2 separate regions of the Homo sapiens genome follow, and region 2 is linked to region 1. Evidence: promoter capture Hi-C in 16 types of primary human blood cells and fetal thymus (Javierre and others, 2016). All regions are on one chromosome and are shown on one strand. Each heading gives the region's core, a stretch centred on a gene start or on the middle of the fragment in contact. The rest is flanking DNA. Distances are from core to core; before and after follow the strand shown.

The links. The method cuts DNA at HindIII sites, captures the fragments that hold promoters and counts their contacts. A CHiCAGO score of 5 or more calls a contact.
Region 2: a fragment that was not itself captured here is called in contact with the fragment with the promoter of ACTRT3 in region 1 in 1 of 17 cell types (total CD8 T cells); the score reaches 5.7 in total CD8 T cells.

The regions. Positions count from the first base shown.
Region 1 is chr3:169,767,404-169,771,491 of GRCh38, forward strand. ACTRT3 (actin related protein T3) reads right to left here and starts at 2,158. Exons shown (of 2, transcript NM_032487.5): 1 at 1,918-2,158; 2 at 1-947. The coding sequence starts at 2,117. The coding sequence ends at 29. RefSeq lists enhancers at 881-1,025, 1,887-2,146, 2,238-2,382, cis regulatory regions at 953, 2,310 and a silencer at 2,227-2,296. The HindIII fragment of the contact is 4,942 bases long and covers 1-4,088 here.
Region 2 is chr3:170,059,482-170,063,569 of GRCh38, forward strand. All of the region lies in intron 2 of GPR160 (G protein-coupled receptor 160), which reads left to right. It overlaps LOC124909455 (a long non-coding RNA gene), which reads right to left and starts at 1,508. Exons shown (of 3, transcript XR_007096156.1): 1 at 1-1,508. It also overlaps the pseudogene KMT5AP3. RefSeq lists enhancers at 2,251-2,772, 2,773-3,293. The HindIII fragment of the contact is 4,412 bases long and covers 1-4,088 here.

The sequences.
Region 1 (4,088 bases), core at 908-3,407:
ATTTTCTTCCAACCATTTTATCTGTATTTCAGAAGCATCTTTGGTGTACTATGTTGGGTCCAACTTCTTTAAATTCTGCAGCAGTGATCCACATGTCCTGGAAGGCAGACAAGGATGCAAGAATAGAACCTCCCATCCACACTGATATTTTCCTTTCTGGAGGAGCTATAACTTGCACAGCGGTGTTGGCAGGAGCCACCTTTGCTATATCCTTAACTAACCGCTTGTCTAAACCAGGGAAAGAGGTTGATCCCCCGGCAAGGATAATATTGGAAAAGAAGGAATTCCTCAGGCCTGTATCACATTTCATTATGCTGCTGAAGCATATCTTATCAATGCCAGGGGCCTCAAGGTTCATATGACACGGAGAGAAGAGGGCCTCTGGACAAGAAAAGAGCTGGTCATGGAGCTGGATGACCTTCCCATCAGGTAGTTGGTAAACTTTCTCTAGACAATCGGGTTTCTTGGCCATTTCCTCTTCGTAGTTCATTGCCACATAACAAAAGCTCTCCTTGATGTCTTCAACAATCTTTCTGTCTGAAGCACTGAGCAACATGATACCATGGTTCTTCATTAGCACCATGAGGTAGTTGGTGAGGTCAAGGCCTGCCAGATCCAGTTGCTGCACACCATGAGGCAGACAGTAACCCTCAAAGATGGGCACACTCTGGGTAACCCCAGCACCTGAATTCAGCACAAGGCCAGTAGTGAAGCCAGCAGCAAAGAGAGCCAGCACAGCCTGGATGGACATATAGAAGGCAGGAACACCCAGATGCTCAAAAAACATTTCCGTGATCTGTTGCCGGTTGGCCAGTGGGTTCAGCGCTGGCTCAGTAATCAAGACTGGGCCATCACACGGCTTCAGCTTTAGGTTATAGTCATAGATATGCTTCCACATGATCTCCATGTCCTCCCATGAAGTAATGAGACCACGCTCCACTGGGTAACTGTAAGGAAAGCAATAAGATCAATGACAGCTTTTTATTTTTCTAGTTTCTATTGTCTTCGACCCTCAGTTAATTCCCCGCGTTTATTACCAATATCCCTTTATGGGCAATAACTGCCACAGCCTCTCACAGCAGGTAAGTGTCAGCCAAAAATAGCACAGCTACTTACCTCTGCAATTTTTTTTTTTTTTTTTGGAGACAGAGTCTCGCTCTGTCACCCAGGCTGGAGTGCAGTGGCGCGATCTCAGCTCACTGCAAGCTCCGCCTCCCGGGTTCACGCCATTCTCCTGCCTCAGTCTCCTGAGTAGCTGGGACTACAGGCGCGCGCCACCACGCCCGGCTAATTTTTTTGTATTTTTAGTAGAGACGGGGTTTCACCGTGTTAGCCACGATGGTCTCGAACTCCTGACCTCGTGATCCGCCCTGCTCGGCCTCCCAAAGTGCTAGGATTACAGGCGTGAGCCACCGCGCCCGGCCTACCTCTGCGATTTTTGTTGCTTTCCATTTTCTCTGTCCTTTGGAACCTTGTGACTTTTAAAAAATTGGGAAATGTCCACATTATAGTATAGTTTAAATGTCAATTGAAGAGAATAACCCAAGTGACAAAAGGGACCATGAGTTAATATTCTTAAATGAATTCGTTCGATAACTTTATACGTTTTAATACATTTGTATAGCCACAGAGAGCAAAATGTTCAGTTTTTAGATGTGTGGTACCCTTGGAGATTTGTGGCCCGTGCGTTTGTAGTAATTCCAGCTGGATGGGGCTTTCCAGCTCCCGGCTTTCTTATTCTTTCTGTCCCCATTGCGCACCTCCTTTGGGGTCCTTTCCTGCCCCCCGACAACACCCCCAGTCCCCCCACCCCCAGCCACCCCAGCCCCACCCCCCAACCTCCCCAGCCCCACCCTACCCCACCCCCACCCCACCCACCCTCCCCAGCCCCAGCAGCCTGCTGGGAGAAGGAGGTACCTGATGAACAGCGAGCTCCTCCAGTCCTGAGCTTGGTCGCCCACGCAGAGTTCTAGCCCGCCCTGGGCCGCGCGGCTCTGGCCCTTGGCGCGGCCGATAATGTTCGGGTAGATAAACTGGGGCTCCCGGCACCCAGCCACGCCCGCCTTGATCATTCCCGAGCCGTTGTCGATCACCACCGGTAGCTGGCAGTGGTTCATGCCGCCGCTGCTGCCGCCGCCTCCTGTCTCTGAGCCGCTCTAGCTACGGGCTCGGCCGGGGCCGAGTGCCTGGAACGCCGCGTCACAGAGGCCCCGGCACGGCCGGGTGAGGCCAGAGTCCTGGGGGCGCAGGCAGGGGGTCGGCAGGGCCCCAGGCGGAAGGACTCGCTGGACGCACCGTGCTCCTCATGTTACCGCCCGCTATTGCTTCTCGCAGGAATTGGGCCACCCCAACACCTGGAATCCCGGAATCCCAGTATCAGGAAAACCCGACTTTCGCATCAAAAGATTCAACTCTAACCCTTCACAAGTGCATTTCTCAAATACCCAGAAGAGCTATAACAGCAGTTTTATTTTCCAAAGCCACGGAATTCTGGTTAACTGGTGGCGGTTCCGGGGAGTTCTAGAATTCGCCCTTGAAACTGGGGAAAAATGAGACTTAAGAGGAGAAAGTTGTTGCAGGAAGGGAGGCAGTGTCTGCTTCTGAAATGTTAAACTTCTAAAATAAGGAGAAAAATGCTGGAATTTAAATGAGTTTTAAGTACGTTTATTATTGTTTCTGTACCTTGGGCAATGCTTTGTTGTGTTTCTTCCTGTGATTTCCAAGCAAAATGTACGCAATTAAAACAAAATAGTAGTTCCTAGCTTAAATATGTAAATAAATATAAATTTATATATATTTATATAAATATATATAAATTTAAATATAAAATATTAAAAAATATATAAATTTATATAATTTATATAAATATATGTTATATTATATAAATATATTTATATATTTATAAAATATATATTTATATATTTAAGCAAGGATATAAATCGAAATATATATATTTATATTTATTATATGTATAAATATAAATATATAAAAATTTATATTTATATTTATTATATGTATAAATATAAATATATAAAAATTTATATTTATATATCATAAATATAAATATATAAAAATTTATATTTATATATCATAAATATAAATATATAAAAATTTATATTTATATATCATAAATATAAATATATAAAAATTTATATTTATATATCATAAATATATAAAAATTTATATTTATATATCATAAATATATAAAAATTTATATTTATATATCATATATAAAAATTTATATTTATATATCATATATAAAAATTTATATTTAGATATCATATATAAAAATTTATATTTAGATATCATATATAAAAATTTATATTTAGATATCATATATAAAAATTTATATTTAGATATCATATATAAAAATTTATATTTAGATATCATATATAAAAATTTATATTTAGATATCATAAATAAAAATTTATATTTAGATATCATAAATAAAAATTTATATTTAGATATCATAAATAAAAATTTATATTTAGATATCATAAATAAAAATTTATATTTAGATATCATAAATAAAAATTTATATTTATATATCATAAATATATAAAAATTTATATTTATATATCATAAATATATAAAAATTTATATTTATATATCATAAATATATAAAAATTTATATTTATATATCATAAATATATAAAAATTTATATTTATATATCATAAATATATAAAAATTTATATTTATATATCATAAATATATAAAAATTTATATTTATATATCATAAATATATAAAAAATTATATTTATATATCATAAATATATAAAAAATTATATTTATATATCATAAATATATAAAAAATTATATTTATATATCATAAATATATAAAAAATTATATTTATATATCATAAATATATAAAAAATTATGTTTATATATAATAAATATATAAAAAATTATGTTTATATATAATAAATATAAAAATTTGTTTATATATAATAAATATAAAAATTTATGTTTATATATAATAAATATATAAAAATTTATGTTTATATATAATAAATATATAAAAATTTGTTTATATATAATAAATATATAAAAATTTATGTTTATATATAATAAATATATAAAAATTTA
Region 2 (4,088 bases), core at 857-3,356, 290 kb after region 1:
AACTGCTTAATATGTATTGTAGTTTGAACAAATGAATCAATATACTAATGTCATTGGGAACCAGGTTCTTTTTTGTTGTTAATTTCTTCATTGAAATTCTGTATTCAATCACAGGAGTTGGAGTCTGCTTCCTGCTGGGACCCTTCCTGATCCTTTAAGTTAATCTCTAATTTGCTATTAGTGTGGCTTCCTGCCCTTTTTTTTCTTCAGCTTTTAAGTTCAGGGGTACATGTGCAGGATGGGGAGGTTTGTTACACAGGGAAACGGGTGCCATGGTGGTTTGCTGTACAGATTATCCCATCACCTAGGCATTAAGCCCAGCATCCATTAGCTGTTTTTCCTGATGCTTTTCTTCCCCCCACTCCCCCCTCTAGCAGGCCCAAGTGTGTGGTGTTTCCCACCATGTGTCCACGTGGGAACCAGATTCTTGCTGTGGGAGATGATCTTTCAAGTATGTATTTCACTATTTCACAAATACTGAAATAAGGTGAGGAAGACTCCTGAGATGGTAGCTTTGCATTGGAGGTATCAGTGTGCCACCCAGATTCTAGTTTTAAAATACCATATTTTCCTAAAAAAAACAGGGCTCCTTGAAAAAAAATGACCAGAAGTACAACGTGCCAAAGCGGGCATGTGCTCAGCAACTGGGATGGCAAAAGATACATATGGGAGCCAGCCTGAAGGAACCCTGACAAGATGATTTGGAAAATTTTAAGCATTCAAAAGAAGAATGATGGCAGTGAATTATAACACATTTAATAAAAATAAATCAATGAATCTATAATGTATTTCCAGAAACAACTGCCAGCTCATGAAAGCAGAATGAATCTTAGAATTAGAAAATTACTATTTTACAACTCCCAGTGTGGTGATTAATTCAGGCAAGGATAATAAACGGATGCTAAAACTATCAGGTGAAACTTTGTTATGCAACGGATTGGTCTAACAGTCTCAAAGTATTAATTACAAAGGGAAAAGGTCCTCTACAACAGTAAAATGGACGAGGCGAGGTGGCTCATGCCTATAATCCCACCACTTTGGGAGGCCTAGGAGGGATAATTGCTTGAGGCTAGGAGTTCAAGACCAGCCTGGGCAACAGCAAGACCCCATCTCTACAAAACAGTATTTTAAAAAAAAATTAACTGGGCATGGTGGTGCACACCTCTATAGTCCTAGCTACTCAGGAGGCTGCGGTGGGAAGATCACTTGAGCCCAGGAGTTCTAGGTTACAGTGAGCTATGACTGTACTACTGCACTCCAGCTTCAGCAACACAGTGAGACCCTGTCTCAAAATAATACTAATAATAAAAAGAAAAAGAAATATGGCAAACACCTCCTTAATCAAGTGACCTAACATCACATGACCAGTAATGAGACATGACATAATGGGATATATCATCTAGATAGTTTTCTTGCCAGAAATGTTTAATATTGAGAAAACAATTAGACAAATCGAGATTATGTGATATTTTACAAGATAACTGACCTGGACTCTTCAAAAATGTCAGTATTGCCGGGCACGGTGGCTCACACCTGTAATCCCAGCACTTTGGGAGGCCCAGGAGGGTGGATTGCTTGAAGTCAGGAGTTCAAGACCAGCCTGACCAACATGGTGAAACCACATCTCTACTAATAATACAAAAATTAGCCAGGCGTGGTGGCAGGCACCTGTAATCCCAGCTACTCGGGAGGCTGAGGCAGGAGAATCGCTTGAACCTGGGAGGCAGAGGTTGCAGTGAGCCGATATGGCGCCACTGCACTCCAGCCTGGGTGACAGAGTGAGACTCTGTCTCAAAAAAAAAAAAAAGAAAGATAAAAAACAACAACAACAACAAATTATCCAAAATTAAAAGAGACTAACAAGACATGACAAATATGTGATCCTTGATTGGATTTTGTATTAAAAAAAACTCTAACAACATTGGGACAGTTTTAATATGGACTATGTATTAGATACTATACCATTTAATTTAATTTCATTAAATTAATATTTATGGGACAGTTTTAATTAATGGGACAGTTTTAATATGGACTATGTATTAAATACTATATAATTTGATTTCATAGATAAAATGATGGTATCATAGTTATGAAAATGGCTATCCGATTATAAGATAAATCATCATAGGAAAAATGGGAAAATATCGAGATAAAATGAAGTCTTATAAGACCACACTAAGATAACCATCATTAACACTTTGGTATATTTCCATCTCATCTACATATATTTAAACAAAATTGAATTGTACTCTACATGGTTTTTTATGTTCCTTCTGCTTGTTCCATATTATAATTATTGGCAAGTCTCCATTAAATAGTCCTCAAAGATATTCTTTTAAATGGTTATATACTATCTCTGTACATTTTCTTATTTTTAAATTTCAAGGCCATGCGCAGTGGCTCCTGCCTGGAATCCCAGCACTTTGGGAGGCGGAGGTGGGAGCATCGCTTGAGGCCGGCAGTTTGAGACCAGCCTGGGCAACATAGGGAGACCCCATCTCTATGATTTTAAAATAAATAAATAAAAATTAAATTCCAAGTTTTTTTATTTTATAAGGTCTATTTTACAATATTTTATTCAATCAACATGCCATCCATTGTAAGACATCATTATTTTATGTGTCACTAAAAAGAAAATTTTCCTGAGGTGGGTGTGTCGGGCCCTACTGGGCCTAGCGGCAGGAGGGGGACATCGGCTCCCACCACAGCCCTCCAAACAGCTCTGCGCTCTGAGCGCCCCCTCCCCAGGGTCCCCCTCTCCAGGCAGGAAGATGTCCAAGTCCCGTGCGGCGGAGGCAGCAGCGGGGGTGACAGCGACGGCCCCGAGCCCGCAGATAGTGGAGCAGAGGGGTCCAGGGAGGCGCTGCACCGACGTTGGGGAGAATGTATGTCCTGGCAATCAAAGATCTTTTCCTCCGTGAGCCTAACAAATGCTCTGGAATGTGTTCCAGCCTTCAGGAGGAGAACTCCGTTACACGTCACGAAGTCAAATGCCAGGGGAAACCATTAGCTGGAATCCACAGGAAAAGAATGCAACACGGAGCACGAAGCCCAAGCACAGAAGATCAAAGACGCCAGGAGAGGACCCCTCGCACCTTTTCCAAACCAAAAATGTGAAGCAGCAGAACTTCCAAAACCTCCGGCCTCGTCTTGTGATTCCACCAATGCAGCCATCGCCAAGCAAGCCTTGAAATAGCCCATCAAGGGCAAACAGGCCCCCGAAAAAAAGCTCAAGGAAAAGTCGCAAACTCACGGATTTCTACCCTGTCCCAAGGAGCTCCAGGAAGGGCAAAGCGGAGCTGCAATTTGAAGAAAGGGAAAGAATAGATGAATTGGTTGAAAGCGGAAAGGAAAGAAGGAGTGAAGACTGACCTCATCAATGACAAAGGCCGGGTGTGAACACCAGAGGGAGCTCTCCCGGGGCGCCTTTGTGGTAGAAAAGCACCGGAGCCTCACGGAGATCACCGACGCCACGGGACCCCTCCATGGTGGATCTCCGTGGATCTCCACAGTAAGCCGAGATCGCGCCACCGCACTCCATCCTGGGAGGCAGAGGGAGACTCCAGCTCAAAATAAGTAGATGACTGAATGAATGAATGAACGAATGAATGAATGAATGGATGTTACAGGTTTCCAAGGTGGACTTAAACAGATGGCTTTATATTACCAAAACTTTTACATTCTAGTTGTTTTTGTGCCTTTTTTTTTTTTTTTAATACAGGTTGAACGTTTTGTGCTTCCCATGCATGCAGTCAAAAACTCAGCACACAGGCCAGGCGCGGTGGCTCACACCTGTAATCCCAGCACTTTGGGAGGCCGAAGCGGGTGGATCACTTGAGGTCAGGAGATTGAGACCAGCCTGGCAAACATGGTGAAACCCCGTCTCTACTAAAAATACAAAAATTAGCCGGGCGTGGTGGTGCATGCCTGTAATCCCAGCCACTGGGGAGGCTGAGGCAGGAGAATCGCTTGAACCCAGGAGGTGGAGGTTGCGGTGAGCCGAGATCCCGCCATTGCACTCCAGCCTGGGTGACAGAGTGAGACCATGTCTCAAAAACAAACAAAAAAAGCAAAAAAAAAAAAAAAAA